Regions from separate parts of the Homo sapiens genome. Here region 1 is linked to region 2. The links are contacts of gene promoters, found by promoter capture Hi-C in blood cells and fetal thymus (Javierre and others, 2016). All regions are on one chromosome and are shown on one strand. The core of a region is centred on a gene start or on the middle of the fragment in contact, and the rest is flanking DNA. Distances in the headings are between cores, read along the strand shown.

Region 1 (3,965 bases), core at 143-2,642, 250 kb before region 2:
CACCACCCCAGATGTGACAACCCCAAATTTCTTCAGACATTGCCACGATAGCCCCAGGGTGAACACAGTGCTCTCCCAGTTGAGAACCACTGTTCATTAGGCACCTCTCGTCTCTGATGCTGTGTTGGGAATTTGCCAAGTGCTTCTTACCCAGCTTAGTCACAGGCACACTTACGCCAAGCTAAATTCTTAGAGATGATGTATTACCAGCCCTTCTTTGTTTTCACTCTCTTCTCTAGAGCAGAATCATTTAACATACTGTAGCAATTGATATTTGAACTGGTTTTGGGGGTCTGGGCTCTGGTCTGTATGTGTGTAGGTCGCAGATTACAAGGTATCAAGCCTAGAGAGATTTGATGGAGGGACTTGAACTGAGGTTGAAATTCTAGCAGCTATTTTCTGCATAGAATGAATAGTGTGGTTGTGAATTTGAGGCATGATGTAGCTTGTGATATTCTGTAACCTTCAGAGTGTAAGATATTCTTTATATTTTGTTTGTCTTCGTGCTTTCCTCTTGCTCCTTCTTTCTTGGTGGAATAATTGTTTATTTACATATTCTTGGGTCTTAGTATTAGAGCCATGGGTAGCTACTTTCTGCCTGTTACAGCTTTTTCTCATTCACTGCTTCCTGCTTTGCATCTTCATTTTATTCTTCTTGCCTTTTTGTCCTCATCATTGATATTATTACCCTGATACTTTCTCCTTCACCTTTTGTTCTGGCTCCTCAACAGTCCTCAAACTGTAAATATTTTTTAAATGCAAATGAATCGTCAATTCATATTGCTAGTTTAGACACTTCCACATTCATTAGTATGACTGCCCCACGGACATTTAAACTTGAGTAGTCTTTTCTAAAAATAAACTTTCTGGAATTTTCCCATCACAGACATTGTTCTTTCTCTTTTCCATATCTGTGTGAATTGTTGCCCATTAAGATTTTATAGCCAAGGCCGAGCGCGGTGGCTCACGCCTGTAATCCCAGCACTTTGGGAGGCCGAGGCAGGCGGATCATGAGGTCAGGAGATTGAGACCATCCTGGCTAACACGGTGAAACCCCGTCTCTACTAAAAACACAAAAAAATTAGCCGGGCGTGGTGGCGGGCGCCTGTAGTCCCAGCTACTCGGGAGGCTGAGGCAGGAGAATGGCGCGAACCCAGGAGGCGGAGCGTGCAGTGAGCCGAGATCGCACCACTGCACTCCAGCCTGGGCGACAGAGCAAGACTCCATCTCAAAAAAAAAAAATATTTTATAGCCAAGATAAAAGCTTCAAAATATGGACATAAAGCCAACATAAGAGAAGTAGCCACATGAAATAGCACATCGATTTGATCATTTCAGTTCCTCAGTACAGCCACAATGTAAGATTGATACAATCCTGGATATTTACTGCAAATTGACACACACAGCACCTCTACCACATTCTATGTTCAAGCCAGTTTGAGTTGTGCCTCTATGAAATGCCACCATAAACAGCCCTAATACAGAGAAAATAGTTAATCCTGTATTATGTGGACCAAACTTAAGCTTTTCTTCGGGGTCATTGAGATGTATGGAGCACAAGATAAAAAGACCAAATAGAAAGGAATAGGCCAATTCCACAGAAATGAGACTAGCAGTGGCAGTGATAAAGGTGAACAACTGGTGACCAAATGAAATTGAGGATGTGAAGTGGACTGACTTGGGCAAAGATAGGATGCCAGGGTGAATATATGGTAGTTATTTCCTATTTTGTTTAAATTTGGTGACTTAAGTGGTTGCTAGTGTGATTCAGTAGGATGGAAGGGAGACAAGAGTTGCCGAACTAAGTTCTTTTAAACATCTTGCATTTGAGGTACCTGTGACATATTTGCTGGTGTATATATTAATCAAAATCATAAGGAAAGGGGGCTGAGCAGAAGTACAGATTTGAGAATCATCAACATGTGTACATTAAAATGAAGGAAATGGATGAAGTCAGCAAAGGTAGGGTAGAAGGTTAGAGAAGGTGAAGTTTGAGAAACAGCCATATATAAAGTCCATGAGCCTGTATCTTCAGCAACCAGAACAGGATGTAAGCTACTCAAGGATAGAAATTATGACTTCATCATCTGAGGTTCTCTAGGCCAGGCACAATGCCTGACAAATAATACATGCTATACATACATAACATTACACACACATATGCACACACACAATGTTGTGAAAATCAAGACACTGATGAGTCAATTGAGTTATTTTTTGATGTCTTCACATGGGTTCTTAGGGACAGTCTGCCCTGAGTTTTTTCTCTACTTTGTGGCCTCCACATTAGGATTATCTTTATTTGTATCATATCATGGGGTAGGGGACATGGAAGGAGAAATGTGGATAAGGGCATGACCTGTTACTCCTTGACTTAACCTGTCTTTTTCCTTCCTAGGATGTGAGTGATGTCACAGAAAGGTATGTGTAAGGAGAACATGAGGTAGTTCCCCTGGACTGACAAATGATTCCTTTACCCATGATCAGTGGGAAAGGGAAGAAGAATCAGAGTGGGGAAGATTCAAGAGAGTAGTCTTGAATCGCGCATCACATGGAGTTTTGGCATCCCCAAATAAAGGGGATGAACTGGCCTCTCTGGTAGGAAAATGTGGGTGATGGGAGGTCAGTAGGTGGGGACAGTACTGTTATTTAGAATAAAGAGTTGCAGTATTGCGCCACTGCACTCCAGCCTGGGAGACAAAGGGAGACTCTGCCTCAAACAAACAAAAAAAAATGAATAAAGAGTTGCAGTATCAGTGACTCCCCAAGTACCCTGTTAGTGTACTTTTCCATAAACCTCTGTGCCTGCTTTCATCCCTGATTCTTAAGTTTATAGTTACCTCAAAATACACAGGAATTTTCTTTGCCCATAAATTTTTTTTTTTTTTTTTTTTTGAGACAGAGTTTCACTCTGTCGCCCAGGCTGGAGTGCAGTGGTGTGATCTCGGCTCACTGCACCTTCCTGCCCGTGAATTTTATCAGAGTGACATTCCCATCTGCATTATTTCTCAAGGTCTAAGAATTTGGTCTTGGCACATCTGCCTTAAGTTTTTCTTTCTCCCAGGCCTTGCTCCCTAGTAGATTTTCTTTTGTCTCAATTCCAGTAAAAACGTAAACCCGAGCTCTGGAGGATAATAATTTAGCCCGGGAATCAAACATGTTCTCTATCACATACTCCAGAGTCTCATCCAACAAGGTGACATGTCAAGCTGCTTGCACACTTGGTTCCTCCATGCTCCTCACAGACACACGAAATGGGAACCCTATCGTCCCTTCTGAAATCTGTACTCTCCGTTTGGAGGTGAGGACATCTTTTCTCCAGCTAGTGGCATAACATTCCCAGAGACGGCAAATCCTAAAATGCTGTTTTGAAGGTTTTCTGAGAAATCCCAGGGCCTAAGCCCACAGACTCTTCTGAAGAAACCCCTTCATTTGATACTTTCAAAGCCCCAGCAATAGGCCCCTGGTGTTCTGCCTGTCAACCCAGACATCTTCAACCCCTCTGATTTTAAATATTTTATATCTTTTTTTAGAGGTAGCAAAAGATTTCCAAGCCATTATTTTACTGAACTGCATAACATCTCTAGGACACAGAAAAAGGAAAATTATAGTATTTTCTAAAAACAACAACAGAAAAACAAAATGAGACTTTAAGAAGTTAAATCTTGGACAGGCGCAGTGACTCACACCTGTAATCCCAGCACTTTGGGAGGCTGAGGAGGGCAGATCACGAGGTCAGGAGATCAAAACCATCCTGGCTAACATGATGAAACCCTATCTCTACTAAATATACAAGAAAATTAGCCAGGCGTGGTGGCACGCGCCTGTAGTCCCAGCTACTCAGAAGGCTGAGGCAGGAGAATCGCTTGAACCTGGGAGGTGGAGGTTGCAGTGAGCCGAGATCGTGCCACTGCACTCCAGCCTGGGTGACAGAGCGAGACTCCTTCTCAAAAAAAAAAGTTAAA
Region 2 (5,374 bases), core at 492-2,991:
GTGTCTTCGAATGTTCCTACAGCTCATAAACCCACACATGAAACATAGTAGAAGTATGCACACGCACACGCACATATATTCATATATGTAAAAATATATTATGTAAATATTATTTAAATAATTAAACAAGCAAATGAATGAAATATTTACGAATGTATATGTCATGCTCATGCTGCATTATTTCCTTTTTCCTTTAATATCTAATTTTATGACTATGCTTGCATCTCTAGGTGCATGAGGGAAATTATAGTAACTATTGAATAAGATTATGGTGGGCATGATATGAGTATATTCATGTGTGGTATACCTGTCAATACCCATATATCTACACTGCATCTATGGTATGTTAATATTATTACTAGAGTAAGCTATTATTATTATTTTAAGAATTCTAGAAGCCACTTATTCTGTTTATTATCTTTTTAAAGTAAGAATTTTATTCCGTATTCTGTTATTTCTTAAACATACTAAAGAAAACTATAAGGCAGTCTATTTGGCTTAAATTACTACTTCCTATTAAACATGTAGTTTGAGTAAATCACTCAACTTTTCCGAACATAAGTATATTAATCACAAGAATGGAAAAACTAATACATACTTTATAAAACTGCCTTGAGGATCCAGCAATAGAAATAAAAGAACTTGGAAAAGGAGAGTTCGACAAGGGTAAAATTCTCATTATTATAATTAAAGTCAAAAGCTTCAGTTAACAGATAAATAATGTTATTGGCTGCAGCATTCCCTTCTGTTTTTCTGCTTTCTATTAGGTTAGAGTGACAGACTCTCCAACCTCCAACTGGTTAGTGATTGGTCTTGAGAAAAATCCTCAGCACTCTCTCTCGAATCTGCTTTGTCCTGACTCCATAGATTACAGGATTGAGGGCTGGTGGGACAACCACATACAGGTTGGCTAATATAATATGTATATACTGTGGGATATTATGGCCAAAACGATGTGTCAAGAATGAAAAAAATGCTGGTGTAAAAAAGGCTAAGATAACACCAATATGAGAACCACAGGTGTTGAGAGCTTTGAGTCGAGCTTCCCAGGAGGGCAGGCAGAAGACAGCATACAGGATCCTGACATAGGAGAGAATAATAAGGATAACATCCAGTAACAAGAGAGATATGTTGCCAAGGCCAAACCTAATGTTGACTTTGATGCTGGCACAGGCCAGACGGGCAATGCCCATGTGCTCACAATAAGTATGAGGGATGATACGATGCCCACAGAAGGGCAGCCTCAGAAGGAGAAACACCAGTGGAACAACCATGTACAGGCTCCTCAGGACAGCAATGCCTGCAATGAGGCTGATGATTTTGCTGGTGAGGATCATGGTGTACCGAAGAGGTTTGCAAATGGCAATGTAGCGGTCAAAGGCCATGGCCACCAACACAATGCTCTCCATAGCAGTGAAGAAATGGATGAAGAACATGTGAGAAAGGCAGCCTCCAAAAGATATTTCTTTGGTATTGAACCAGAAGATGCCCAACATTTTGGGGATGGTGGCTGTAGACAAGCCCAGGTCAATGGAATCCAACATGGCCAGGAAGTAGTACATAGGCTCATGGAGACTCTGCTCAGTCTGGATCACAAACAAGAGAGCAGTGTTTCCCAGGAGTGCAACAAGATACACAAAGAAAAAAGGGACTCCAATCCAAATGTGCACATCTTCTAGCCCTGGGATACCCAGCAGTAGGAATGAAGAAGGATGGAACTGGGTGTGATTAGACGTAGACATTCTTCCTGCCATATAAAGCTGCTGGGCACACCAGCGACGATTATAATATTCCTATTAGTAATTCTTGTTCCACTTCTTCTTTTGTTCAGATTTCTAGTCAAATTCACAATAACATATTAATCTTTCTTTATATATATTCATGAGTAAGGTAAAATACTCTCCACAATTTCTCCTAGCCTCTCCTGAGCAACATTGGTACCAGGAATAGAACCAGTCTTATTCTACTGCCCCTTCACCTAATATCAAAGACTAATATAAAAAGAAATGGCAGAAGAATGTCATCTGCCAAATAAAAATGCAAAATCTGGAATTTAGCCAGAACTAAATGAGAAAAATAAAGTTCCAGGGTCAGTGTCTATAGAAATGTTACACATATTTTTGCTTCACGATCAAGGTATTTGTAATCTCAACTATTCCTCTATTTGGGAATCAAAAATGTAGTGTGTAAAACCGTTTCTGTGTTGTTATGCATTTTTACAGGTATTTGTGACTACTAGACTGTATACTTCTATATACAATTTAGACTATACTGTATACAATTTGGGACTACTAGACTGTATACTTCTGTATACAATTTAGGCTGTATATACTGTATACAGTTTGTGACTACTAGACTGTATACTTCTGTATACAATTTAGACTGTGTATACTGTATACAATTTGTGACTACTAGACTGTATACTTCTGAGAGAAGAAACAATTTATCTTGCTCATATGCAGGAAAAAGATCTGCTACATAATAGTTCTCAATTTAAAACCTCCACAAATAGACATTGATTACAAGGAGGCAAAACTGTGGGTAATTTTAATGTCATATTTTAGGAAATAAATAATTTAGTTTCCATCACACCTGTGTTTGAGAAAAGAAGCTTATCCATCGGATTTGGAAAATGGGTAAAAACAAGGAAAAGAAAATACTTGACAAAGAGTATTTTGCAGCTATGATGGAACATGGATGAAGAGATAATTTTAATCTAGATAATCCTATTATTTGGAGAGTGCATAAATACACGCATTCAGTAAAGAAACTGTTTATATATAGGCCAGCTTTTTCTGTGGCAAGGAAACTAAATATTCTGGGCTACAAAATTTTCAAATATATCTCAGTCTTATATTCATGGGAAGAAAGTAGAAGCCCTTTGGATGACCTACAGTTTAGCTGCTACTCAAATTCTATCCCAGCTGTTTTGTCTCTATGGATGTCTCCAATATAGTAAATCCTGAATTTACAGATAGTAAATCCTGAATTTACGGATAGTAAATCCTGAATTTACAGATAGTAAATTCAAAATTTGAAGCAAAAAGTTCATTACTGCGCAACTTACTTTTACTTGGGAAAAACTAGTTTTACAGATAATGCGGAATTGGTTAAATGTGACGTGGCAACTACACAAAAAGCATTGATTACAATTTAAGAATACTTGAACATTGGGGGAAGTCAGAATTGAGACGTACGCAGCAGAGATAAAAGTGTGTGAATGTCAGCAAGTTCTACTTTAATCCTGTAACAACAAAAATGCATTGCTGGTAGTACCTATTTGAAGCATACGAAGAATAGCAAAAATGAGAGATTATTTGATAATTTGGGAAATTATTTCAGAGAGAGAGAGAGAGAGAGAATGTGTGTGTATAAACTTGGGTGAAACTATCAGAGATAAGGGTATAAACTTCCTGTTTTTCACTAATTGAGAATACACAAAATAGGCAGCGAAATACCTTTCACAATTTATCCCATCAAATATTGAAGAGGTTCTCTATGTATCAGTGGTAATTAGGAAGTTTAAATACAAAAAATGAATAAAACTGGTCATATATCCTTAAGGAAATCACCACGTAGTAAAGAAGATAAAATTCCAAACATGAAATTTAAGAACTGTACTGCAAGTGCTATGGTAGAAATGTGCACAGGATGTTTTAAATGTAGAGGTGAGTCAAGAAAAATTGTATAGAGGAAGTTAGGCTTATGCTGACTTACAGAGAAATTCTTCTGACAAAAAAGAAAGAAAATTTTATTCTGTATAAATAAGCAGGGGCAAAGTGGGAAAAAAAGCACAGTGGCCACTTAGGATATAAAAATGAAATCAGTCATCCTCTTCAATGGTCTTATCCAGAGATTCTTATTAAGTCTGATGTCTTGGTCATGTTTAGGGGCTCCATACAGCATGAACTGAAAAAATAAAAATATGGCTACATTCCAAGGATAGCAACTTATCCCATGTATCTCTGTGGATTTTAAAAGAAGATTTGGAAATTAATGCTTCCCTTCTCCCTAGGACAACATCATTTCCAAGTTTATAAATACTGATCAAAGCAACCAATCAATTAATTATCCAATAAATGTTTACTTAACCATTATTTCAACACATATTTACATATCTTCCAATCTCTGCTGGATTTAAAAATAAAATTGGTTCTCAGCCCCTGTTTTGACTCCCTAACTCTAAGGTCCTACATGGAATTATATCCAGCTATCCAGCAGCCACGTCCTCAGTGTGTCATCTTCTTAATCTACCCTATTGCACCAACCTCCACCACACCCTACCTATCCATATTCCCACATCCTGGAACAGATGAGCATAAGTAAAAGAGATAATGTACACCTGTTTTCTCATCTTTATCTAATCTCACAGTCTCATGACCAGCCTGCTATCATGTAACCTTATTCCATTTCTCAGATGTTTTATCACTCTAGCTCTGAGTCTATGTTCATAAAAGTCTATTCCTCAGGGCCATGCTTCTTCCTGATTCATTTATTTATAAATTAATTTAAAAACATATTTTTAAAATTTGTATTTTTAATTTTTGTGGGTACATATCATAGATATATATATTTATGGGTACATGAGATGTTTTGATACAAGCATGCAATGTGAAATAAGCACATCATGGAGAATGGGGTATCCATCCCCTCAAGCATCTATCCTTTGAGTTACAAACAATCCAAATGCACTCTTAGTTATTTTAAAATGTATAATTATTACTGACTATCTTCACTCTGTTATGCTATCAAATACTAGGTCTTATTCATTCTTTCTATTTTTTGTACCCATTAACCATCCCACCTCCCCCCAGTCCCCCACTACCATTCCCAGCTTCTGGTAACCATCATTCTATCTTCACCTATGCTATATTTTGTATGTTCTAGAAAATACAGAGAGCTAGTCTTGCTCTTTTGCTGTTCACATGTGTACATATATATATAGAGTCAGAAATAATAGCTAAAGAGATATGGGATATATTGGTACAATTTCTTCCTCATCAGCTTTCACACTTTACTTTTGCATCTGAGACTTTGCATGGTCATATGTGTGTGTAGGCAAAAATACAGTTTGAGGTGTTTATCAGTATGAGTGTGTATTCACTCTTCATCTTGTCATACTTTCACCTTTCCTGCATCTCTCCATACTAGCTTGCCATGAGCTCTTTCTCCATCCCTCCTGGTATTTTTCACAGCCTAACCATGATATAACTTACCTTAGTCTCAAAATCTCTACAAAACATCCCTTGGCATATTCTTGGGGTACACCATTTATTATGCCAATAGGAGATATTTATACTGTTCTTGTAGCCCCACTTCCCCTGGGATGGGTACCATAGTATCTTGGAGGCGTTGATGTAGTATAGTTAATAGA

Evidence for each region. Contacts are between HindIII fragments. The CHiCAGO score rates a contact against its expected background, and 5 or more counts as called.
Region 1: a contact is called between a fragment that was not itself captured here and the fragment with the promoter of OR52E8 in region 2, in 1 of 17 cell types (megakaryocytes). The highest score is 5.1, in megakaryocytes.

Annotation. Positions count from the first base shown.
Region 1 is chr11:5,605,974-5,609,938 of GRCh38, forward strand. It overlaps TRIM6 (tripartite motif containing 6), which reads left to right. Exons shown (of 8, transcript NM_001003818.3): 5 at 2,399-2,421. It overlaps TRIM6-TRIM34 (TRIM6-TRIM34 readthrough), which reads left to right. Exons shown (of 14, transcript NM_001003819.4): 5 at 2,399-2,421. It also overlaps a transcript of TRIM5 not described here. Among named protein-coding and RNA genes, the nearest start is that of TRIM6-TRIM34, 11 kb to the left of the region's middle. The HindIII fragment of the contact is 260 bases long and covers 1,263-1,522 here.
Region 2 is chr11:5,855,949-5,861,322 of GRCh38, forward strand. OR52E8 (olfactory receptor family 52 subfamily E member 8) reads right to left here and starts at 1,742. Exons shown (of 1, transcript NM_001005168.3): 1 at 801-1,742. The coding sequence starts at 1,742. The coding sequence ends at 801. The HindIII fragment of the contact is 1,911 bases long and covers 699-2,609 here.